Regions from separate parts of the Homo sapiens genome. Here all the other regions are linked to region 2. The links are contacts of gene promoters, found by promoter capture Hi-C in human tissues and cell types (Jung and others, 2019). All regions are on one chromosome and are shown on one strand. Each heading gives the region's core, a stretch centred on a gene start or on the middle of the fragment in contact. The rest is flanking DNA. Distances are from core to core; before and after follow the strand shown.

Evidence for each region. Contacts are between HindIII fragments. The study calls those that stand out against the background at their distance.
Region 1: a fragment that was not itself captured here is called in contact with the fragment with the promoter of ANKS6 in region 2 in 1 of the 25 tissues and cell types used here (dorsolateral prefrontal cortex).
Region 3: a contact is called between a fragment that was not itself captured here and the fragment with the promoter of ANKS6 in region 2, in 1 of the 25 tissues and cell types used here (mesenchymal stem cells).
Region 4: a fragment that was not itself captured here is called in contact with the fragment with the promoter of ANKS6 in region 2 in 1 of the 25 tissues and cell types used here (spleen).
Region 5: a fragment that was not itself captured here is called in contact with the fragment with the promoter of ANKS6 in region 2 in 1 of the 25 tissues and cell types used here (dorsolateral prefrontal cortex).
Region 6: a fragment that was not itself captured here is called in contact with the fragment with the promoter of ANKS6 in region 2 in 1 of the 25 tissues and cell types used here (spleen).

What each region holds. Positions count from the first base shown.
Region 1 is chr9:100,087,869-100,091,749 of GRCh38, forward strand. All of the region lies in intron 1 of ERP44 (endoplasmic reticulum protein 44), which reads right to left. Among named protein-coding and RNA genes, the nearest start is that of ERP44, 9.2 kb to the right of the region's middle. The HindIII fragment of the contact is 3,296 bases long and covers 845-3,881 here.
Region 2 is chr9:98,793,698-98,798,010 of GRCh38, forward strand. It overlaps ANKS6 (ankyrin repeat and sterile alpha motif domain containing 6), which reads right to left and starts at 2,858. Exons shown (of 15, transcript NM_173551.5): 1 at 2,436-2,858. The coding sequence starts at 2,794. RefSeq lists enhancers at 2,121-2,621, 2,622-3,122 and a silencer at 2,381-3,000. The HindIII fragment of the contact is 18,100 bases long and covers 1-4,313 here.
Region 3 is chr9:100,149,316-100,153,748 of GRCh38, forward strand. The region is part of intron 3 of INVS (inversin); the gene reads left to right. Among named protein-coding and RNA genes, the nearest start is that of INVS, 52 kb to the left of the region's middle. The HindIII fragment of the contact is 3,331 bases long and covers 1-3,177 here.
Region 4 is chr9:99,953,092-99,957,383 of GRCh38, forward strand. All of the region lies in intron 4 of STX17 (syntaxin 17), which reads left to right. Among named protein-coding and RNA genes, the nearest start is that of STX17, 49 kb to the left of the region's middle. The HindIII fragment of the contact is 4,483 bases long and covers 1-3,981 here.
Region 5 is chr9:99,805,215-99,809,395 of GRCh38, forward strand. LOC101928438 (a long non-coding RNA gene) reads right to left here. Exons shown (of 7, transcript NR_109802.1): 2 at 657-777. Among named protein-coding and RNA genes, the nearest start is that of NR4A3, 15 kb to the right of the region's middle. The HindIII fragment of the contact is 4,940 bases long and covers 1-4,181 here.
Region 6 is chr9:100,307,963-100,312,054 of GRCh38, forward strand. TEX10 (testis expressed 10) reads right to left here. Exons shown (of 15, transcript NM_017746.4): 12 at 2,337-2,417; 13 at 538-719. Among named protein-coding and RNA genes, the nearest start is that of TEX10, 43 kb to the right of the region's middle. The HindIII fragment of the contact is 6,335 bases long and covers 1-4,092 here.

The sequences.
Region 1 (3,881 bases), core at 1,243-3,742, 1.3 Mb after region 2:
CACTAAAATGTTATCAGTGGTTAGTGTACGCATTTTTTTCTTCATTATGCTTTTCTGTACCATGAAAGTGTTATCACTTTCGGGAATCAAAAAACACGTCAGGAAATCTTTTGGTTTAACATTTTAAGTTACTACAACAGTATTTTTCACACTGCAAGTTGGGACCCCTCCTGTAACAGAGAATCAAAACAACAAAGGCTACTCCCAACAGAGGCAAATGGGGCAAGGCTGAAGAGATCAATAATATCAGCCACCCAGTTAGGAAGTTCTTCCCTACTGAGTCAGATCAGCAATTTTTAAAAAATAAAATAAAGCACAGAATAGAAAAAGAAAAACAATTATCAGTAAACAACATACATAGTAAGGGCAAGTACACTTTTGCAAAATATGTTTTAACTAAATGACTTCATCTTCTAATATGCTGTATCTTATTCACTATATGACAATCACGCTGCTCTCCTTGCTATTTCTTGAATATGCCTGGGACACTCCCACATTAGGGGCTTTGCACTGACTAACGGCCCTGCCTGGAAGGCTCTTCTTCCAGGAAATCCAAATGACTAACTCCCTCACTTGCTTCAAGGCTCACCTGTCCCGTGATGCTTACAAACTACAACTCCCCTAATACACTCCTGATCCTTCTCACGTAAGCCCTACCTTTTCTTTTTCCACAGTACTTAAATTGTTATTAAGCATTTACTCTATAATAAGGCATTGTACAACAAACTGAGATCTAAGAATGAGAAAAGGGGATACCTTTCACCACTTTTTGTTTCATAAAATCATAATAGTAGCATGGAATAACACCACCACTTAGGAGTCAGACATAATACCAGTATTATTCCTCAGAAGTTAATAGGAAAATAGAGATGTTAAGAAGAAAGAAGGGTGGTGAGTAGCAGATCCAAGATTTGGGCCCAAATCCCTGATCCCTAAACTAAATATTCTTCTAAAAGTTTTCTCTTTAGTCTATATATATTCAAGCGATCATTAAGGGAAAGAAATACTTCGAATATTCCAGAAGATATCCTAAAACCAGAGTACAGGTACAAATAAACAAACTGGATGATTTCTGAAACAAATAAGATACATGCTTTAAAAATGTAGCACAGTCTTTACATTAGTCCCCTTTATCCAACCATGATCTGAAAACATTAAATGGAAAATTCCAGAAATAAACACTTTATAAGTTTTAAATTGCATGCAGTTCTAAGTAGTGTGATGAAGTCTCATACCATCTTGCTTCAAATTAGGTGGGATGTGAATCATCCTTTTGTCCAGCATATTCCCACTGCAGACATAACCCGCCCCTTATCAACTGTAGTGGTACTGGAATCACAATACTTGTGTTCAAAAACCCATACTTTACTTAATAATGGCTCCAAAGCACAAGAGTAGTGATGCTGGCAATTAAGATATGCCAAAGAGAGGCCAGGCGTGGTGGCTCATGCCTGTTAATCCCAGCACTTTGGAGGGCCAAGGCAGGCGGATCACCTTAGGTCAGGAGTTCGAGACCAGCCAAGCCAGCATGGCAAAACCCCAAATCTACTAAAAATACAAAAATTAGCTGGGTGTAGTGGCGAGTGCCTGTAATCCCAGCTACTCAGGAGGCTGAGGCAGAAGAATCGCTTGAACCCAGGAGGCAGAGGTTGCAGTGAACCAATATCACGCCACCGCACTCCAGCCTGGGTGACAGAGTGAGACTCCATCTCAAAAAAAAAAAAAAAAAAAAAAAGATATGCCAAAGAGAAGCCATAAAGCGCTTCCTTAAGTGAAAAGATGAAAGCTCTTGACTTTAAATGGAAAGAAAATAAATCATACGCTGAGGTGGCTAAGATCTAGATTAAGAATAAATCTTCTATAAAGAAACTGTGAACAGTATATTTTATTATTAGTTACTATTGTTGATCTCTTACTGTGCCTAATTTATAAAGGAAACTTTATCATAGGTATGTATGTATAAGAAAAAACATAGTATATATAGGGTTCGGTATAATCCACAATTTCAGGCAGACACTGAGCATCTTGGAACATTACCTCCTGTGGATAAGAGGGGACTACTGTAACTCTAAAGCAAAATTAGGGTCTCTGAAACTGTTCATTTCATTCAAAGGTTAAACTAACAAAGAACTAAGTATTTTACAACATTGTAATACTTTTGTTGTTAGCACACTACAAGACTTCCTGTGAGGAAATAATATCCACTCCTACAGTAAAAATTCCTGCTATTTAGAAAGTTTGAGGAATGAGTCCATTTGAGTAGCTGTTTTCTAAGAAATTATTTTGACTAGCAAAAAAAGAAAAAAAAAGTAGCTATTCTTTATTCTCAGCCCTTTCAGAGGTAAAATCATTACAGAAGTGTAAGCTTATCACTGGCTAGCTGACATTTTACTGTACTTGGGCCAGAACTCCAGTAATAAGTCAAAGGAACTGAGGATGTGCAGGTTTCTTCTCTCAAGGTAACGCCAAATGACAATACATTATCTTACACTTGCAGCTGTTCTATAAGCAAAGAGATAGACTTCAATGATGTGTTGGTAATTTTTAAAAGCTGGCATTTCCCCCTACATTATTTAAAACTTCAAATACAACAAAACAGGCCTGGCACAGTGGCTCACGGCTGTAATCCTAACACTTTGGGAGGCTGAGGTAGGTGGATCACCTGAGGTCAGGAGTTTGAGACCAGTCTGGCCAACATGGTGAAACCCCGTCTCTACTAAAAACACAAAAATTAGCCGGGCATGGTGGCAGGCACCTGTAATCCCAGCTACCTGGGAGGCTGAGGCAGGAGAATCACTAGAACCCAGGAGGTGGAGGCTGCAGTGAGCCGAGATCACGCCATTGCATTCCAGCCTGGGCAACGGAGTGAGACTCTGTTTCAAAAAAAAAAAAATATACAACAAAACAGCTAAAGAGCAGGCTTGTAAATATGAGTGCGTACTGTCTATAGGACAAGAAATTTTAACTCTAACATTTTATTTTGTAGATGCATTCATAATCTATATTCCTAATGACCTCTTTTTTATTTTTAAAAATTTATTTTTCCCAGAAGGATGTCAAACATGACCTAACAACCTTTTTCTAAAATTTCTTAAATCCATTCACCAAAGGTCCCACTACTAGACTATAATAAGGAAGAAATGGAAAAAGTACTGGTATTCTACTATTCAGCCTATGGTTTTCTTTAGCTCAAATACTACTACAATGTTTTTCTGAGATGGGTTTCTTCTGCTTTTTTGTTGCTTTTCTCTACTATATTAGCAATGTTCGTGTCTACAAATTCAGGTGACTTAAAATTAGAGTCCAATATAATGCTCAAAGTTCTACATAATGATGAAATCTCAGGTTTGTAGGAATTGCAGAGATGAATGTGGTGACCACAATATCACCAAGGATTCCCAAAGCAGTTAGAATTCGATTTCAGTCTTTGCAAGGACAGAACCAAGACCCACAGCATTACAGAAGGGACTTCTCCAAAGTGGCATTTTATTCCTCTCCCCTCTTGAATGGACTAATCTGAAGGCTAGTTAGAACCCACTAAAGATCATGATTTTTATTTTTGCTAAGTTGATAACAAACTGTTTTAATGAAGTTGGCCAAAGGGTTTGCCAGCTTCTTTAGGGCCAATTCTGACATTTGGCCACGTCAGCCAACCAGACAACAAGATTTCTTAAAAATAAAACAATAAAAAACAAGTATTCAATTGATAGAAAAGATTTACTATGTTATTGAGAGGCACTGCCCTTTTTCTTCATTCCATTCAGGACTGAAAATAAGTTGATCCATTTAACTATTCAAGGCAATATTCAAATTCATCTTTTTCCAAGACTACTCTGATTCCTCCACTGAGAAATAATTTGTTTCTTCCAAACATCCATGGC
Region 2 (4,313 bases), core at 1,608-4,107:
CTAATTTTTGTATTTTTAGTAGAGACAGGGTTTCACTATGTTGGCCAGGCTGGTCTCGATCTCCTGACCTCCTGATCTGCCCGCCTCGGCCTCCCAAAGTGCTGGGATTACAGGCGTGAGCCACCGCACCTGGCCAAAGGTTACCTATTATTTTAAGAACATGAAAAAACATGCCCCAGCGCGGTGGCTCACGCCTGTAATCGCAGCACTTTGGGAGGCCGAGGTGGGCGTTTCACGAAATCAGGAGATTGAGACCAGCCTGGCCAACACAGTGAAACCCGGTCTCTACTAAAAATACAAAAAGTAGCTGGGCGTGGTGGCACGTGACTGTAATCCCAGCTACTCCGGAGGCTGAGACAGGAGAATCGCTTGAACCCAGGAGGCGGAGGTTGCAGTGAGTCGAGATCACGCCACTGCACTCCAGCCTGGTGACAGAGCGAGACTCCGTCTCAAAAAAAAAAAAAAAAAGAACAGGAAAAAACACTAAGGTCACCATTTCTAATACTAAAACACCCACAAAAGACCAAAGGCACAGGGTGTCTAATAGTCTGGCCTGATCCACACAGAGAGCTGGGACGATAAATAGATGCTTGCTCAGACCCAGCGTGGTGGCTGCCAGGGGTGTGGTTTTGAGCAGGATTCTGGGGGCGTATCCAGATCCAAGGAAGAAGAGCACAAGGCTGGAAGGTGTCAGCACACAGGCCATTCATTTGCCTACCCCGATGTGAGGGACAGACACACTGTACATCCTTCTGGAAGTCTTCCATATATACTACTCCTCAACTTGACCTTTTCTTATGAATTACGCAGCAGAAAGCTGGAGCACAACTCAACACAGGCAGAGATGCTACCTGAATATAGAGTCGGTGTCACACCAACTGAGGAACAGCACATTTTAAAATACCCAGGCTCAAGACTATCCTGCAGAACTTGGTTAAAACTGATGATCTGGGGTCTCTGAGACACTCTGAGGCATGTCAGTGCTGTAGTCACAAACCTCACTCAGTAAATTCCTCAGGGGGCTCACCAGGGCCCCTGTGCACGCACTTGGTGGATTGCAGAGATGAGACACACATAACACATCAGTGGCTCCCAAACCTACCATACAAGAGAATCACTGGGGAGCCTCTTCTCACACAGAGTCCCTGTCTCTTACTCCCCTCACTGCCCTGGGCCTTCTAAATCACAATCTCCAGAAAAGGAACTCAGGAATCTGCACTTAGACAAGCATCCTGGTGATTCTGATGTGTGGCCAGGTTTGGGTACTGAGGAAGCCAGTCAGCATTAACATGGTGTGATGGATGCTACCACAGAGGCCTTTCTGCTGCGGAGGGACCAGAGAACAGGGAGATATCATGGCAGGCTTCACAGAAGCCAGATCTCTAGATGCCATCCTTGCTGTCTCTCTTAACCCCTCCCCAAGGGCCAGTCGTCAACTCCTGCTGATCTACTCCCTGAATATATCACAAATTCATCTGGGTGCCCTCCCTCCGCTGTCTCCATTCTGGTCTAGGCCACCATCACCTCTCACTCAGACTGCAGCAAACTCTACCTAACCAGCCTTTTTGACTCTAGCTTACCCTAGAGTATCTAATCTATTCTCACACTTCAAGGAAAGTAATTTTTCCAAAACGTAACTCTCATCCTGTCACTCATTCTGCCTAGAACCTTCCATGACTCCCTAGCACCTTCCATGACTCCCTAGCACCCTAGGATAGCTAGCGTTTCTCAGCTCCCACACTCCCCCAACTCCCTGGCATCTGCCTTCTCTCCAGGGAGGACTAGTACATCATTCTACTCATACATTCTACGCATACCTCATTCTACCAGTCCTACCAGCTCGTGCACCCAAGCCTTTGCATGGGCCTCCCATCATGCCTTCCCACAGCCCACTTGTAATGTCCTGGCTAATTCTCAGGTATCCGCAGGTCTCCACGTGGATATAAACATCTTTTCTACCAGAAACCTTCCCCCACGTCTCCAAAATGGGTCACCTGCCCCACAGCTACTCAAACCTTTCCGGTCAAGCTCGTTCCTTTGCCTGGCCTGCCCACCAATGCCCTGGGTGGGGACTCTGCCTGGGTCTCGCAGCACCCTCAACGCCAAGCCAGGAAGGGAAGGCAGGTTCTGAGGAAACTCTTACTGCAATAAGAAATGAATTAAATCTCTAAGGTTCTAAGTCTCTACAATTCTATTCGCTGTCTCCAGATTCTATTCTGAAAGGCCAAAATTTCTAAGAATCTGATTTTATGTTAATTCAAAAGTGTTTCCACGTCTATGCTCAAAGTTTACAAAAGACTACTCAAAGTTTACCATTCCAACTCTAAGGAGTCCTTAACTCTTCACCTCCCGGGGCATCCGGCCGCCGGGGACCGCGTCTCGGGCCAGCGCCGGGCACCACTCTGGTCCCGGGCCCCCGGGCCCCGCCGCCTCACCTGGCCGCCTGCATGAGCGCGCTCCAGCCGTAGTGGTTGCGGCTGTTGACCGAGGCACCGCGGCGCAGCAGGAAGCGCACCAGCGGTTCGTGGCCCCCGGCCGCGGCGAACTGCAGTGCGGTGTTGCCCGCCTCGTCCGAGCAATCCACGGGCACCGGAGCCCCGACTGCCCCCGCCGCTGCGGCCCCGGGCCCGGCCACCTCGGCCCCCGCCGGCTCCGCGCCCGCCTCCGGCTCCGCGCCGCGCTCGGCTGGCTCCGCCGCCCCCGGCTCCAGCAGCCGCCGCGCCGTCTCCGTGTCGCCCTGGTCACACGCGCGCAGCAGCAGCTGGAAGGCCGGGGGCAGCCCGCCCTCGCCCATCGCCGCCGCCACGCGCGGCCCGCTCCCGTCCGCCCCGCCGGCCGCGTCGGCTCCGCCCCCGGATACCGCCCGCAGGCGCCCCCTTCCGGCCACCCGCCCGCGCCGCGCGCCTACTGTGTGCCGGGAGCGCGCCGGGGCTAGGGCCGCGCGCCTGCTGTGTGCCGGGAGCGCGCTAGGGCCGGGGCTGCGCACCTCCAGTGCCCGTATTCGGGAGTCCAGGGACGCTCAGAGGAGCGCCCGCCGCAGACCCGCGTGTTCCCTTTTGCCTCTTCGGCGCCCTCTCGCCGCCCTGTCCCGGGGCTCCAGAAACTTCCTGTCAGGGCAGAGGTGGGAGCGGCCACGCCATCCCCTCTTCACGCTGTGGTCAGGGCCCTGGGCCCGGGTCTGAGTCCGCAGCTGCGTGGGCCTTGACTTTACTAGCGGGCTCCGCTGACCCCACCGCAGCCCCTGGCACTGAACCTGCCCTTCTAGAATAAGGAAGCGGCTGAATTAAGGAACGAACGGATTGTTTCCTCACAGTGTCCTGCGGTGCCCTTAATGTCGCTCCTTCATCTGGGCCAGGCTGCTGGGGCTAAAAGCGCCTCCTGTTCTCTCTCTCTCCCCCACCTTTTATTTCAACTATTATTATAGATTAAAGGGTACAGGTTTGTTACATGGGTAAATTGTTACATGGGTAAATTGCGCGACGCTGAAGCTTGTGGTCCCAACGATCCCGTCACCCAGGCAGTAAGCATAATACCCACCAAGAGGTTCTTCAGCCCAGAGTCCCCTCCATCCCTCCCTGGCCTAGCGATCCCCAGCGTTTGTTGTTCCCATCTTTGTGTCCATGTGTACTCAATGTTTAGCTCCCACTTATAAGTGAGAACATGCAGTATTTGGTTTTCTGTTCTTTTTAGGTCGCTTAGGATAATGGCCTCCAGCTTTATCCATGTTGCTGCAAAGGGCATGATTTCGTTCATTCTTATGGCTGCATAGTATTCCGTAGTATTCCATCATATTCTATCGTGTATATGCACCACATTTCTTTCATTCCTTCCCTCTCTTCCCTCCCTCCCTCCCTATCCCCCTTCCTTCCTCCCTCCCTCCCTCCCTTTCTCCCTCTCTCTCTCTCTCTCTCTCTCTCTTTTGACAGGGTCTTGCTCTGTCATCCAGGCTGGAGTGCAATGGTGCAATCTCTACTCACCACAACCTCTGCCTCCCAGGCTCAAGCAATCCTCCCACCTCAGCCTACCGAGTAGCTAGGACTGCAGGCAAGTGCCACCACACCCGGCTAATTTTTTGTATTTTTGGTTGAGAAAGGGTTTTACCATGTTGTCCGGCTGGTCTCAAAGTCCTGAGCTCAAGTGATTCACCTGCTGTGGCCTCCCAAAGTGCCAGGATTACAGGTGTGAGCCATCACATCTGGCTCTGTACCACATGTTCTTTATCCAATCTACTGTTGATGGGCACTTAGGTTGATTCCATACCCTTGCTATTGTAAATGGCACTGCAATGAATATACAGGTGTCTTTTTGATAGA
Region 3 (4,433 bases), core at 262-2,761, 1.4 Mb after region 2:
CTTAGAAATGTAGGGAAATCTTAGTATTTGAAACTCTTATGTCCTAGAATCTTAAGAAACCTCTGGATTGAGATGGTGATGTTAGGCAGCTCTTGCAGTTGACTTCAATGCTAGCTAGGCTACTTTCTCCAAGCAGTGAGAAAGTCCTAAAGAGTCTTGCTTCATTTTATTCCAACTTCTGGAGTTTTTAAACCAGCATTGTTTGTGTTCTTCCATATGTAGAAACTATCTCTAAACCTATCCTCTCATTTTCCAGTTTAGAAGGTGCTTTCAGATATTTAGGATCTTATTAGTTACTTTCAAATTAGTATTCCAATCAAAACGAGTTGAAATAAAAACCTGTCTGTCCTTTAACACTTTGATTATAGTTTATGTACTTCTATTTACATGGGTAAAATGTATAGTCACTAGGAATAACATGTCAACACATCTTGATTGAAATCGCCACTTTGAATTTTTCTATCATGTTTCTAGTATGAAAAAAAACTTCATTTAGCTTCATAGTAGCTTCATAGCAGTTGGAATAGTTGTATATTATGTGTTTTCTGTATACATAAACTGAACTATAATTTGAAAAAGTTCTTCAAGGTCACCTTGTCACTTGCAGAGTGACAAATTATCCTGATTTGCTGATTCTCATCTTAGTGTTCCTGATACTGCTGCACTGGGAGAAAATTTACATACTTTCCTAAAGCTTACTTTCTCAGACTTCTTGTTCTTCTGGCCTTGAGTAATTCCCAGATCCAGTTTTCCTGTCAAACCTCCAAAGAAGTACTGAAGGGTTTCTTTCTCATAGGTCAGATTCAGGATTTGAACCCAAAGCTTCTTTCTTTAAATACACTGTTTTTTCTTTATCATACCTCTCAAACATAGTAGAGCAGCCTTGAAGATTTTGTTTTAAAATCTACATGGCTGTGGAATTTTGTTTTAAATATGATTATGTTTCCTACAATCATCTTCATTTTCTAATCATCTTCATCTCTTCTCTGACTCCCATTTTTACCAAGTCATGAAAATACAAGCATCTGCTTTCCATGAATAGATCAGAGATCTCACAAGCCTAGATTCCCATGGAAACCAATCAAAAACTAAAAGGAAAAGAAAGAGTATATATTGAATTTCGATGAAACCTACAGCTTGTTTTTCATTAGACTCATGCTGGTTTCTTTTAAACTCTGGGCACAGGGCCAGCAAATATTTTTATGGCTGGTAAAAAGGGACTTCAAATCCATTTACTTTCATTTAACCGTTTAAAAATTAATTTTGTATATAACATCAATTCTAAAGAAAATTTGAGCATTAATTTTCTAATTACCTTATGTCATAGGGCCATTATTTGTTTATGTAATTTCCTCTTCTTGTTTTTTCTCCTACCCATAGTTTATGACTCATAAAAGGATGAGAGGGAATCAGGATGATTATTATTCCTATAGTGTGAATATTGTCAACACTTGGGCACGACATTTTTCCTATGACCAATCATAGGACCAATAAAGGAGGTCTCTTTGTACCTCCTTTAGCTGTTAAGCTTTCACAAGGTGCAAATGATCATTTACAAATGTGACAACAGATGATAACTAAAATGCCAAAGTGAGGGGGATTAAGAGAACCAGAGAGGGGATGGCTGGGGAGGACAGGTTGTAATTTTAAATTAAGCAATCAAAATAGTATTCAGTGAGACAGGTTGTAATTTTAAATTAAGCAATCAAAATAGTATTCAGTGAGATGGTGACATGTGAAGCAAGACTTAAAGGAGGTGAGAACTTTAGCCATGTGAACACCTGAGGGAAGAGCATTCATTCCAGGCAGAAGAAACAGTCAGAACAAAGGCCTTCAGATGGGAGCATGCCTAGAATTTTTGCAAAATAACAAGAAAATTAGTATAAATTAGTCTTCATGCCTTTAATCCCAGCACTTTGGGAGACCAAGGCGGGAGGGTCACTTGAGCCCAAGAGTTTGAGACCAGCCTGGTCAACATAGGGAGACTCCATCTCTACAAAAAAATTTTTAAAAATTCGCCAGGCATGGTGGTGCATGCCTGTGGTCCTAGCCACTCAGGAGGCTGAGATGGGAGTATCACTTGAGTCCAGGAGGTTGAGGCTGCAGTAAGCCATAATCACACCACTGCATTCCAGCCTGGACAACAGAGTGAGACCCTGTCTAAAAAAATAATAATAAATATATATATACCTTATAATGAATGAGCAAAAGGAAAGCGCTAAGAGATGAAGAAAGAGAAAGAATGGTGGCCTGATCCTGTAGGGCCTTATAGGCCATTGTCAAGAATATGTTTTCACTCTGAATGAGATGAGGAGGGTTTGAGGAAAGACGTGACATGGTCTGACTTATGTATTTATAAAAGAATCATTCTGGCCAAGTGAAGACATTTTCCTCCAGTTTTAGTACTATCTATTCCTTCACCCATTCCTCATATAATATGCTTTCAAGTTTCCTTCTCATCCTGATCATTTTCACCAGATATGCACATATTTGTCTAAATTCCCTTGAAAATGTGATACCTACAACAGAATACAATGCCAGTCTGATGAGCTCAGAGTGTTACATGACTATAACTGTTGACATTTTAGCAACAAAATACAGCTGATTCATATTTAAGATTTTTCAAATAAAAACTCTAAATCTGCTTTATACTTACAACTGCCTAAACTACGTCCTATATTAATATGGCCGTGGTTGTTGGACCCAAAGGCAGCATCTTATTGTATCCATATTTTGAACTTTCCCAGACATACTTAGGTAAAATTGACCATTGTATCCTTTGTTCCTCCAGTACCTTGTGTACTCAACCACTGTTATACCACCTTTTACACTGAAATATATTTATTTGTTTACATGTTTTATTTCTCCACAGATGATGAACATCTTAATATGTAAGAGTGTCTTAGTCATCTTATTTCCAATATCTAGTAGTACTTAACGACACTCAATCAATGCTTGCTGAATTGAATTGGGTTCATCATGTAACCTACCCAGGTCCTCTTGATTCTTGAGTCGGCCATTCAGTATAGTTGTCATCTCTCCCACTTATGAGTCACCAAGATTCTCATCCTAATCTTTGATATTAAAATAGATACTGCTTATAGAAAACCTTAATCATTGAAACACTAGTACTAAAATAAACTTCACTAATTTAAAAAGTTGTTTTATTCATTTATTATACTTGTCTAAATTATGTCGTCAGTATTAACTCAGCCTCTTGAAAAATTTTGTATAATCTATCAGAATCCACTTGCTCACCATTCCAATTCTGATGGGTATGTCATTCATTTATTCATTCATTCATTTGTTCAACAGATAAATTTTTAGTATTTAATATGTATCAGGCATTACACTATATCTCAAAGTATTTTAAATTCAACCTTTGTCTAAATATGTGGTCTTTCAGATTTTATAATAGTAAAATTAACATTTCACCAATATAACTACTCATTTTCAGGCAATTTATTAGACATATACTCATAGTTTATCTTAAACAATTACAGATTTCAGAAGATATGGTTTGGGTCCTTTTATTCAAGTCTTTCCTGTCACTTTGTCAGTCATCTCTTTTCAAGCCATTTTCTTTTAAGGAATTTGGGCTGAAATATTAGACTGTACTTTGAAGTAATGACTGTAAACTTCATGTATGTAACTTTGGTTATTTCAGTGTTGTACAGATTGTTAACTAATTGTGTGTGTGTGTGTGTGTGTGTGTGTACAGGTGCACACAGGTGCATGCTTTAAATTGTTATTTAATTGGATTATAATGCTTACACATATTGTAAAATGTTAAACATACCAAGAAGGTTTGCAGTGAAGAATCTCGGTGTAAGGAAAACTTTCTATCTGCAAGTCAAAATATAGAAGTGATAGGAAAAAGACTAATAAATATGGCTACATAGTGATAAGAAAGACTTTTTCCTTCCAGAAAATGTGGCAAGCAAAGTTAAAAAAAAAAAAAGACAAATTGGAAACAATATTTGCAAATTATATCATTATCAAAGGTTTAATACTCCTCATATATAAGGTGGAGAAGAAAAAGACCAATGATCCTATAAAAATGAGTAAGAGTATATCTAGATAGTTCACAGAAAAGGAAATGGCCCTTCAATATATGAAAATATGCTCAATATTGTTCGTCATAAAAGAAATACAAATTAAAATCACAAAGAGATAACATGCTTCATGTCTCAGATTGGCAAAACTCCAAAAGTTTGACAACATGTTCTGATGGCAAAACTGTAGGGAAATGAGCATTCACATATCCCTGAAGGAAATGGAAATGGTTTCCTTAGCCTGTTTTGTGTTGCAATAACAGAATACCACAGACTGGGTAATTTATAAGGAAGGAAATTTATTTCTCCCAATTCTGGAGACTGGGAAGTCCAATATCAAGTTATCAGCATCTGCTGAGGGACTTCAAGCTGTGTCAT
Region 4 (4,292 bases), core at 490-2,989, 1.2 Mb after region 2:
TTTTTTTATTTACTCAGGGCACTCCTGCATCACTATCTCCAAAGCCAGATTATTTTTAATTTTATATTTTCAGTGCTAATGATCCAGTAATTTACAGAGAGATTAAAAAAAGCTTTTGGAAGAAACATTTAGGCCACTAGTCAGAGTTTCTGGGTAATCTTGCTTTTGTTGTAGCCTTAGTACCTAGCACAATGCTTGGCACATAATGGACCTAAATGTTTTATAAACATAAATACATAAATATCTTTTTAGAGACAATTTTGTAATTTCACATGCACTGTAACCACCTCACTCTGTGGATAACCAGTACTGTAAATGTTTTTGAGAGAAGGAGATGCTAGCACTCAATCCTTGGTTGAAAAGTATTTGGGAAGAATGCTTTTTGATAGTTTGTAATTACCGTTTCATTATTCTGTTCATCTATAGTTATTGCTGCCATATTGGTGAGGTTGAAGGCCGTTTTTATCACTTAGTGCAAACTGATGCTTTATGTGCACATGTGGAGTAACTGAGTTTTATAGTTGCATGTGATTAAGGGCTCATCTTATGTACCCAGACATTGTGATAGTTGTGATGGTAATAATAACTGTGAAGATAACCTGGATTTTCTGGAAAGAGTAACTAACATCAATCTTTTTGCTACTTAGCTTTGAATTGCCTATCTCTAGCAATTCCCCTATCAAACAAAAATTTGGAGTTCATCTGAGAGTTTTCTCACAGTATTTTAATATCCTAATACTTGCTTTAATTTGCATTTTATTATTGCATTATTTGTTTTACTGCCAGTAGAACTGTTCGGGATCAACAACTTTGGGCTTATATGTCATCAGAGAAATTGGGTGATTATTATTAATAGAAAAAGGCAGTTTACCCAGTTTGCTGGCAATTAACTTTCTCCATAGGAAGCTGATTGGTATATAAAAAAAAACTTCGGCAGATTTTGAAGAAGTATGTGCATAAAGGAAATGAAAAAATTGGAGCAGAGCCAGAGAATGAGGGAGAAGAAATAGCAGGTGAAATTCACTTCCCAATTCTCTTGATTCTCAAACTTCTCAATTCACCAAATGGGCTATTAAAGACCTAATTACTAGGAGAAAACTAAAAAATTAAATCTCTATAACTAGTATTGATTTGGTTGAGACAGTCATTCTATTAATAAAATCAATACCTAGGTTATACCTAAAATAGTGTATAGAATTTCAAATTCAATAGTCTGCTTGTCATAGTGTGCTTTCACTATTAATCCACTGCCAACATAAAGCAATTAAAAAACTACTGTCTCACCAAGTGCCTGAGTATTTCGCCAAGTGTGAGAGTTTCTGCTATATTGCCTCAAGTCCAGAAATATTATTAATAAATAAGAGAATGGAAAAGGAAATGAATAATGAAAGGAAAGCAAGTAACTAATTTACATAAGACTTTAATAGTGGGGTAGGAATTGAGTTTGCTCCATATTTGGTCTTCTAGCTGTAGACTGTTTTTGTCATTCTACATGTTTTTATTCTATGCTCTCCAGTTTTTCCTTATTTTTGCTTTAGATACTTATTATAGTAGCAACAGCCTATATGGAAAATCTGTTTTATTGCATAGAAGTTAAGTGCCTTAAAATACTTTTTACTTTACAAATTCAATCTGATTCTAAATAAATTGGTTGGAAACATCAGCAGAGATTCAGAAGCAATGTTGCCACATTTCCATGAGTAAGATCAAAAATACAAAAATAGTTTTTCATTTACAGATAGAAATAACAAGTAGAATAGGATGTTTTATATTCTCTGGAGAATGAAAGAAGCTTATTAAGTTTAGGGAGAAGCTGTGATGATTTTGCTGTTTCTTTTGTCCAGATTCCGAGAGTTCCTAAAGCAAATCTTCTCTGCCAATCTTCTTGATCTGAGAAACTCCCTTCTGTCTCACTTGTGTGTCTGGTTTCATTTTTAGCATATTGCTTTCCACCAAGTGAAGTGAGGAGCCTCCAAATCTGATTTGTATTTAGAAAGGTGATTCAAGTCATACAGAGTGAATCAGTGCTTCTCTCCATTTTTGTCTTTCTTTACTCTCAGGACACACACTTCAGTAACACAAAAGGAACAGAATCTTATTACATTTTAAACAAATATTCACAAAAGAAAAGAATATAATCTTAAAACTGCTGGGAACTTCAGACCAGCGTATTGAATTTGATGAAATTTAGATTTTTATCACAGGTATATACATGTACTGAACAGTTTTATGAAACATGTAGATGGTTTGTATTATATGATTCAGAAGATGTATTTTCTATTGGTTTTAATTTTTTTTAAGTCTTCATTTGCAGCTAAGTTAAGCCATGCTTAGAAGTAATTTTATTTTGATAGGCTTATGTAGATGATCAGTAAATTAATTTCACTATTTTTAAACTATCAGAACTGGAAAACATTTCAGCAATGCTTTTGAATTAATTTAGATTTATAATAAAACTTTTTCTTATGTGGTAAAGGTTAGTGGAAATTTTTTATATACTATAATTCTTGGTAAAATCATTGCTGTTCATAAAGTATGGAGAAAGAGGGAGAGAGTACTTGGATATATATAAAAGGGAAAAGTCTTAGGTTATTTCGTTTATTTCTCACTTCAACTAAACCAACAATAAGGTTTTAAAACCAATCCTGGGGTTTAAAAAACAGTGGTGAGTGATAGGTCCTATGTTCTACTTGCCCTTTATGCTTCTGGTTTGTGTGTGGGTGGGAGTACCTGAGATGATTATGTTACATGAAACAGTTACAATTTTTTACTTCTGTAGGCAGATCTAAAGTTCTTCAGCTTTCTTTCCTGAAACTATAATCTATCTCAGCGTTTTGCCTTATCATGTCCATAGCAGTTCGTAAAAGTTCAAAGGATCGTCACTGAGGTAGTGATTTTAAATGCAAGCTGGAATAAATGAATTATGGAAGTTGTAGAAATGAAAAGATTTGCTTTAATTGATAGTCATGACTTGAATTGATTAGCGAGGTTTAGAGTTTTAAGTTTACATCAGGGTTTTTTATGGAAGAGCACAGACCTCTTTGTTCTAAGACTCTGTTTGAACTAAGATGCATACGTAGTTTGGTTTCAAGTGAGACGTAAATGACTTAAACATTTTTATTCTTTACTGAGGGAAATCTTTTATGTTTGTTTAAAATGTCAAACATTTCCCACACATTATTTTTTTAGATTAAGTATTAATATATAATAATCTGTCCTCATTTCATTGCATACCCTCGCAAACTTCATTTGAATCCTCTTTAATAGTACATAAATTATGGCTTTAAAAAATATTTTGAGTGGTCATGGTTATAAAGTTCTCCTTTATATTTGATCTGTTAATAATAATGAAGTTATCATTATTCATCATAATGTGAAAGAAGTGTAAATACCTGGAAATATTAAGTAGAAGAAAGGTCATAGAGTAATTCATTTTTCTTGGTTGATGTGAAAATGAGAGTGTCTTTATGGCAATAATGTAAAGCATAGAGTAACTATTTTAAGCATTTGTAAAAATCATTTAGAGCTTTTAAAATATTGGCTATTTGCCATACTGTTTTAATGTAAAACTTACTCTGTATCGCCTGCCTTTGCTCTTCCTTTAAGTTAAATAAATATATTCAGATAAGATTAAAAACATTCTCAGTTGTGATAAATCTACAAATTACTTTTTAGTCCATTGACTATGGCCTTCCTAAACAATTGAAACATTTTTCCTAGAGAGGTAAAGCATTCATAGGCTTTAAAGGTAAAATAGTAATGCAGTTTTATAAAATACTATTTCAGTTATAGGTTTGGCTGAAAGGGGCATTGAGAGAACATGAACTTAGAGTTATAATTGCTTACTTTTAGGAGTAGATCAGATGCCACATGTCATCATGGCATTTCTCTGCTTATAACCCTTCAACAGCTCTCTTTGGTGTGCCAGATAAAGTCCAAAGTCTTTAACTGGTCTGCAAGGCCCCTCCTGACCATCTGTAGGCTTATACTTGTAACTTGTCTTTTACTTCTTGCTTTGTACCATCAAACTGCTGATTTACATAGCTATATTGTTTATTCCTTGAGGGCCTTTGTTCATACTGGTTTTTCTGCCTAGAATATGTATTCCTCTCTTCTTTGCCTAGTAACCTCAAGTTTTCTAGAAAGGCTTCCCATGAGTTGCATACCATATCAAACTGGATCAGATGCCACCCACAGCTCGGAAGTCTCATAAAATACTTATGTATATATTTCTGATTCTAGATAGATACCAATGCAGTCTCCTATTGTTTTATAATTTCTTTTTGTATGTC
Region 5 (4,181 bases), core at 656-3,155, 1.0 Mb after region 2:
GTCCTTTTGTTACAACTCTTTACACAAATAATACCTGCCTAATTTCAGCAGTGCCAACATTGTATCAGTTATTATTATTTTAGAGATGGGGTCTTGCTCTGTCCCCCAGGCTAGAGTACAGTGGGGCAATCATATCTCACTGCAGCCTCAAACTCCTGGGCTCCAGCGATCCTCCTGGCTCAGCCTTCTAAGTAGCTGGGAATACAGGCACTCACCACCACATTGGGCTTGCTATTTATGTATTTATTTATGAGTGAATGAGAGGGGGGTCTCACTATGTTGCCCAGGCTGGTCTGGAACTCTTGGCCTCAAGCAATCCTCCCACCTCAGACTCCCAAGTCTCTGGGATTACAAGTGTGAGTCACCACAGGCCCCATATCAATTCTTAACATCAACTTTTATTTATAGAATTAAGCTGTCACTAATGTACACAGTATCTCTTTAGTACTAGGATTTAATGAAGTCTCATTACCACTAACCTTATCATCTATTTTACTTCCCTCCAGATATCCTCTATTATCACATCAATTTAGTAGCGAGATCATCTAATTGGTTTATTGGCCCCATTTACATTAACAAATCAGTTTTAACCAGTTTACTTTCAATAATATTTGTGAACTCCTTAACATAATCATATATTATTTCTCTAAACTAACCTTAATTATTCCATACTGAATTCTTCTCAGCCAAGAATGAACCATTAATAACTCTTCTTCCTATTTCTGGTTTTCCCCAACAGGTAGATTCTGATCTACTGCCAGACCTAGTTCTTCTTTCCTGAAATAAAGTATATTTATGAAGTACAATAATAAATTAAGGCTATCAGCTCCACAAGTTATGCACAAAAATTAATTTCGTAACTCTATAATCTCACTTCATCCACACACGAGTTTATATTTTCTATGGAATTTTTCCATTACTATTTCATAAGAAAGGCCACCAAACATACTCCAAGTTATGGAATGGCTGGTCAACTGCAAGCTTCAATTTTTTTCCTTCAGGGCAAGGAAGTTTGACATTAAAAATAAGGAAATGGCATATTGATAATGCAGTCTGATATAAGAATTTATTTTCTTATGCCTTTTAACCATTGAATTTGAATGGCATTCCAGTCTTAACTTAGATCTAACAGAGTATTATAAAAATATTATTCTCTGAAATTTTGCCTCTTCAGAAATCTTTAAACAAATGTAAAATAATCTTTCCCAAACAGAAGTTGAAACAGTAAAAACTTCAATGGACTTTGAGATTTGCAAATGTAACAATCACTTACAATCATTATCACTAACGATTTATATCCTTAAGATGAAACATCCTTCAAGAATGCATTAGGTGCACCAGGTGCAGTGGCTAATGCCTGTAATCCCAACACTTTGAGAGGCCAAGGTAGGAGAATCCCTTGAGCCCAGTTCACGACCAGCCTGGGCAACACAGGGAGACCTCATCTCTACAAAAAATGAATAAAATTAGCCTGGTGTGGTGGTGCACACCTGTAGTCCCAGCTACTCAGGAGGCTGAAGTGGGAGGACTGCTTGAGCCCAGGAGGTCAAGGCTGCAGTGAACCGAAACTGCACCATGGCACTCCAACCTGGGCAATAGAGTGAGGCCTTGCCTCAAAAAAAAAAAAAAAAAAAAAAAAAAAAAGCATTAGGTGCTCCTCCTGAGTCACTAAAGTATGGGTGATGTTATTTTAATATACTTAACTTCACTGCCTTTCCATAGGTAGCAATTAAATCATTCCCAAGATGCAAGTTAAACATTTGGTTCTCAGGATCACCAGTAAAAATTTCAAATCAAAACTTAGGAAATCCACAGCCACTATTTTGTACAAACATAGATTAATACTACTCTATGGCATAACCCACAACTTTAAATATTTATCCCCCTGTGAATGGGATTATAAAGGTACCTACTATATCATCTCAGACCCAATAAGAAGTTTAGCAACAAATGTCTCCTAATTTTCATGATCTCCATGTGGCCTATATAAAAGTAAACTGTGAACCTCTTCCAACAACAGTAGCCTCTACATTTTTTAACCAATTTCACATGAGACTGACAAGATACTAGTTATCCTGAGAAATGTGTTAAGTTTCCTGACAAATAAAGCCTGAACTAAGATCTCCCTTAAGTAGTCTAACTCTACAACCTCAGAATTCTTAAGAAACAAAAAATATCCTAAGAAGTTATCCATTCCCCTCATCCATCTTAGCAACCAAGTGGAGAATCTGGCCCCTCGCCACTAGAGGGGGGTGTTTCTTTTATTGGTTTCTCTTTCCCCCTAATTCGGCTGACCAGAATTTCTGGTTGAACTAGAAATAAGCCTCAAGATCAACATCCTGACCTTTATTTTTAATATCGTGTGGCCTTTTTTCTTTTTTTCAGGCCTAGTTAACACTAAAATATAAATTTCAATCCCTAATTACTTGTACTATTATGCCCCACATCATACTCCGTTGCCTTTCTACAAAGAGACTAACAAACTACACAATTTAGAGACTTTGACATTAGTTCACTGAAAATAAACAGAAAATCCAACCAAGTTTGAGTGTTTTTTTAAAAAAACCTTCTCATTTGCCAGGTTCATTATTTCATTTGAATCACTATAATACTATTTTAAAAATTAGACAGACAATAGCAACAAACTTTAAGGAAAAAATATACTTAAGAGACTTGCCCAAAATTTCAGGTAGCAAATGGCTAGGCCATAATGAAGACTCAAATGCTCTGACTCCTAGACCATTTCCAGTTCTATTATTCTATGCCATGAGTGAAAGGTACTAGATGAGAAGACCAAGGGGTGAACTACTCTTACTTTTTACTCTACCAGTCTAGAGCAAATAGATGTATGATTACTCATGTAACTCACTATTGCTCCTGGCAAATAACATATACCCATCTGCTTAGAATAGTCTCCACTGGCCACAAAATCAAGTCACAAGATGAGGAAGGAGTGGATGAAGGAGATAAGGGGAAAGAGTTGCAGAAGAGAAGAAAATAAATCTATCAAACAATCTTGAGGTCAGGCATGAGACACAAAATATACAAAAGTGAGGACCAAGATCTAAGCAAGAAATCAGAATCAGAATCAGAAAAAGAAGGAATGAACAACAAATGGTAGCAGTCACACCACCAGATATTCAAACAACCCAAAAGACTCTGGAAGAGACAATGAGTGCTGTTTGATTCCTTGCTGCTTCCTATGAAGATCCCTGGTCTAAGGCAGAGCCCCTTAGAAAAGATAGAGACAAGACCTGGCCAGTTAGAATCTGCATCCACTTTATGAAGGCAGAAGACATGGGGAGGGAAGAGCCCCAGCAAAAAGAAACCTATCCAAATAATATCAAATCCACCTGACGTGAATCTGCTTGGGACAAAGTAGGTATCACATCAGGATGTTTCTGGCTGCAAATGACAAATTCGCAGATCATGCCTACTTACACAATGAGGAACTGTATTATCTCACAGAACTGGAAGTTCAGAGGTAAGGCAGACCAAGTACAATACAATCAGCAATTCAGGAAGGTCATCAAGGGCTCAGGTTTCTTCCATCTGTTCTGTCATCATCTAGATCAGCTGCACCCCCCAAAGCTAGTTTCCCTCATGGTCCCAAGATGGATAGAGCAGTTCTAGCCACTATACTCAAACATAAAATCACAGGGAGATGAGGCATCATCTCTTTCTTTTCTCTCTGTTTAGAATCAATAAATCCTTTCCCAGAAGCACTCAAGCCGTCTGTAGACTTTTCCTTCATCTCTCATTGGCCAGAATAGGTTACAGGCCATTCCTAACTCTTCACCGGCAAGGGAAATGGGATTAACCATGACTGCTTAGACAAATCACCTGCGGTGGGATGAATACTGGGGAGTCAATCACCATGACCATACCATGGGCAATTTATACTGATGAGTATTATTATGACATTGTTTTCACTCCATAACAAATCTATAATGTGATTATGCTGCTTCAATGATCTTAACTACAAGGCATGTGCTTTGCCTGAAATCCAGATAATTACTCTTTGCTCACATCCCATATTTTTCAACATGAACTTATTTATCAGATAGAAAACATTTTATTAAAACTTTCCCAGTCAGGCCAGGCATGGTGGCTCACACCTATAACCCCAGCACTTTGGGAGGCCAAGGTAGGAGGATCCCTTGAGCCCAGGAGTTTGAGAC
Region 6 (4,092 bases), core at 1,416-3,915, 1.5 Mb after region 2:
AGAACACAAGCATAAAATACTTTTTAAAATTAAAGTAAAATCTTCCCAACTACGCTAAAAGCTCTAGCCTGAATATTTTATATACGAGCAAAAGTACTAATTAAAAGCACTAGCATCTTAGAAGAATTTCCTTAAATCCAAGATTTTAAAATTCCCACTCTGGCTAGCTCTAATGAAGCTCAAAACAAAATACAAAGGTTGGTACTAATAGCCCATCCTCCTAACGGTAGATTTATTTTTCTTGCTAGACTTATAGCAATGTTAATAAAAGAAACCTCTCAAGAAATTTTATAATGCCATCTAAGTTTTCAAATTTGTAACTTAAAGGGGAAAGAACAAAAAACTAAAAATTTTCACTACAACACAAAGGGGATTCATGAAGGAACAAAGAAAAAGCTAGCTAGGCTGACACAAACTCTCTGAAACAGAATTTAAGGTATCTGTATAACCTAATTATCTTTAACTGTCTATTTTATTATTTGGTTGGGGGAGGAGGAACAGTAGGAAAATTAAGGTTGAAGAATAAAAAATAATTACCTCTTTCTTAGATGTTCTGCTTCCCCTTTCTCTATAGTGAGCAGAAAATAAAGAAGACTGTAGCAACAAGAAGCCAGAAATGGCAGTAGAGTCTCACTAACTACACAAGTATGATCCAGGAGCTTACAGATAACACCAAAAACACAGCCAGCCGTGCTGTCAGGAATTACAGTCAACCCAACCTAAGCAGAGAAAAACGAGATTAATCACCTCTTCATAACAGACCCGCTCCTCCACATAAAACCAAAACCTGTTAATTCACGATTAACTTTACATTATTTCTACTGAAAACCAATATATACCTAACATATGCCACCTGCCACACCTTAAGGTCCTGTTTTCCTTTGAGAATTTAATCCCTAAATTATATGACTTTGAAAACATGCAAACACAAGAAGTGCTATTAACCCAATCCACTGCCTCCCCTTCATGACAGAATCTTCTAAATGTTCTATAAAATGTCTACTGCTGGTTAGAAATAACTATTTAAAGGGATTATTTCATGCACTCAAAGAAAATCTGAATACCAACAATCATACTTAAAAATTTTTAAATTATTCAGGCTGGAAAACTTGCATGTGGCACCACTCATATGCCAGGTAATTAAATGTATAAATAGTTCATTTCAAAATTAGCCTTCCTCTGCACTTTGATTTAGTCATTCAGACATGAATAAACATACCTCTACTGGAGTCAGTAAAAGATATTACTATAGTTAACATTTGACTGTTTCACTGCCAGGAAACCCAGGAAGGGTCATTAGAGTTTGCTAATTCATCTAGAATGTACTGTATGCATTGTCATTAAGGTAGAGTCTAACTTGTAACTGTATATATACATGGTTTCAATCTCCTGGAGACTACTGTTGGGTAATGATTTTACAAAGTCTGCAAACTCTGATGTCTTAACCTCCTCCACAGGCTGTGTGAAAATAGTGGCCAAGACTGACTGGCATATTGATCTTTTACTAGAATAATGAATGTAGTCAACGGAGAGTCTAATTCTCTGGAGTGGAGGTAGGGAAAAAAAAGTGGGCATTGTTGATGGCACAGGGATAAGGACTGGAAGTTTGACAGCAGGGAGAAAGTACTAGGAATTCAAAGCAGTACTCTCTTCCAACTCAAGGGAAGTAACATTTTAAGAGAAAAAGGAGTCTGGATGTGCCTATATTTTATCCAAACAAGTGTGTTTCTCAAAGATATAATTTGGGAGCCCTGCTTTGTACTATAACACATTACAATAAAAAGCCAAAGATAAGAGTATAAACACTGGAGAAAGTTAAAAGCAACTACAGAGGTATATCTAATGTGAATTTAATACCAATGGAAATGAGACATCCAATATCAAATAACAGGTCAGTCTCAGGGTTGAGTCTACAGCTGCCAGTGACCACACCTTGTGCCGGGTTAGATGATGTGCCTACTTTGGACCCCAAACCTTCTAGGTGGAACCCAGACTTCAGTCTAGATGTTGAATTCTCAATACAATGAGGCCAAGCACACGTGAATTACAGAAGTTGGAAAGGATGTGAAGTTTAATTTTCAGGTCCCTTATTTCACTGATTTAGAAAAGTGAGGTCCTAAGAAGAGACTTTTCCCAAGGTCACTCAGAAGTAAATTAATAACAGCCAGGAAAAATACCAAGATTCCTCAGTTCTTGCCAATGCATCATGCTGCAAGAGACTATGATATCATTAATCTTAGAATTCCAGACATGCTCTTTCTGGGGCTGTGGAAAACTCTATTCTAACCAATGCATCCTGTGTTCATTCTTAAGAGAAAAAGTTTAAGGATACTTACCAAATGCTTACTGATGGCACTTTGCAAGATGTCAAAGTTCTGACTTCGGGCAGGAATAACCAATAAACTGTGAAAAACTGCCTGTCAGAAAAGGAGAAAACCACTAACCAAATCAGAACATTTTAGATCAGAAACAAGTTCAACAGATTCTTTTTTTTGAGACAGAGTTTCACTCTGTCGCCCAGGCTGGAGTGCAGTGATGCAGTCTCAGCTCACCGCAACCCCCGTGACCTGGCTCAAGCAATCCTCTGGCCTCAGCCTCCCCAGTAGCTGGGACTACAGGTGCACACCACCACGCCTGGCTAATTTTTGTATTCTTAGTAGAGATGGGGTTCCACCATTTTGCCCAGGCTTGTCTTAAACTCCTGGATTCAAGCAACCCACCTACCTCAAGACTCCCAAAGTGCTAAGATCACAGGTGTGAGCCACTGTGCCCAGCAATAGATTCTTTTAATACCTACTTGCTCTACATATTAATAGGAAACACATAACAAATTATTTTGAAGATGCAAATGTCAAAGATCAAACAAATAGACCTTATATATGGCCTAATTTTCCAAATAATTCATCTACTAATCATATGTTGAATATTGAGCTAGCCCCTATTAGATGCCATGCACAGGAATAAAAGAATGAGAAACCTTCTCTTCTTTCTCATACCCCTCAAGTGGCTTACAATCTACCAACATGGAGACCACACAGTAAGTCCTCTACTTAACAACTTCAGCAGGTTCTCGGAAACTATGACTTTAAGCAAAACAATGTATAATGCAATCATTTTTTCCCCCCAATCAACATTATTAAGAAACGTTTTTCAGCCAGGCCTGGTGGCTCATGACTGTAATTCTAGTACTTTGGGAGGCCAAGGTGGGAGGACTGCTCAAGCCCAGGAGTTTGAAACCAGCCTGGGCAACATAGTGGTACCTCATCTAGAAAAAAAAAAAAAGTTGGCCAGATGTGGTAGCACATGCTTGTGGTACCAGCTACTCAGGAGGTTGGGACAGGAGGATCGCCTGAGCCCAGGAGGTTGAGGCTGCACTGCAGTAAGCCATAATGGTGACACTGCACTGTAGCCTGGATGACAGAGTGAGACACTGTCTCCAAAAAATAAGTGTTATTCAAGGACCTGCCGTGTATGTCATTTCTGTTTCCTAAAGAACCTACTGAGGATATTAAGTGAGGGCATACTGTATTTCTATTGAGTGCTATGACAGAAAGATCTGAGTGATATGAACAAAGGGCTAACAAAAGCTTTTTTTTGCCCACCTGATAGAGAAATGTATCACAGAAAAATATTTATGACCCAGAAAATACAAATATCCTGTTCAATTTAATCATAACACTGCCTTCTCTAAAGGTAAAAAAGAAATCTGCACAAAAAGTAGAGAGTTAGAAGTAAAACCCCTAGTATTTTTAATTTCCTAAGTTCTCAGAAAAACAAGAAGAGTCAAGAACAGTACTAAGTCCTTCACAGATATCAGTCACAGCACAAACTCCAGAATCTGATACAGTATACTACCAAAAATGAAATATGTAAAAACATCACATGAAAAAACAAGAATGGTAGAAGGATGAATATCACTCTAGGAAGAGATCAGTCAGTTAAGTTCAAGAGAGCTGTCATCTAGCCCTGAAAAATCAAGACTTTTTATACTTGTTATTTACAGATTTGAGAGTGTGTGGGGGGGGGAATCAACAGATCTATACATTATTTCTCTGTAAAATATCTTGTAGATATTACCCAGATATTTTACTT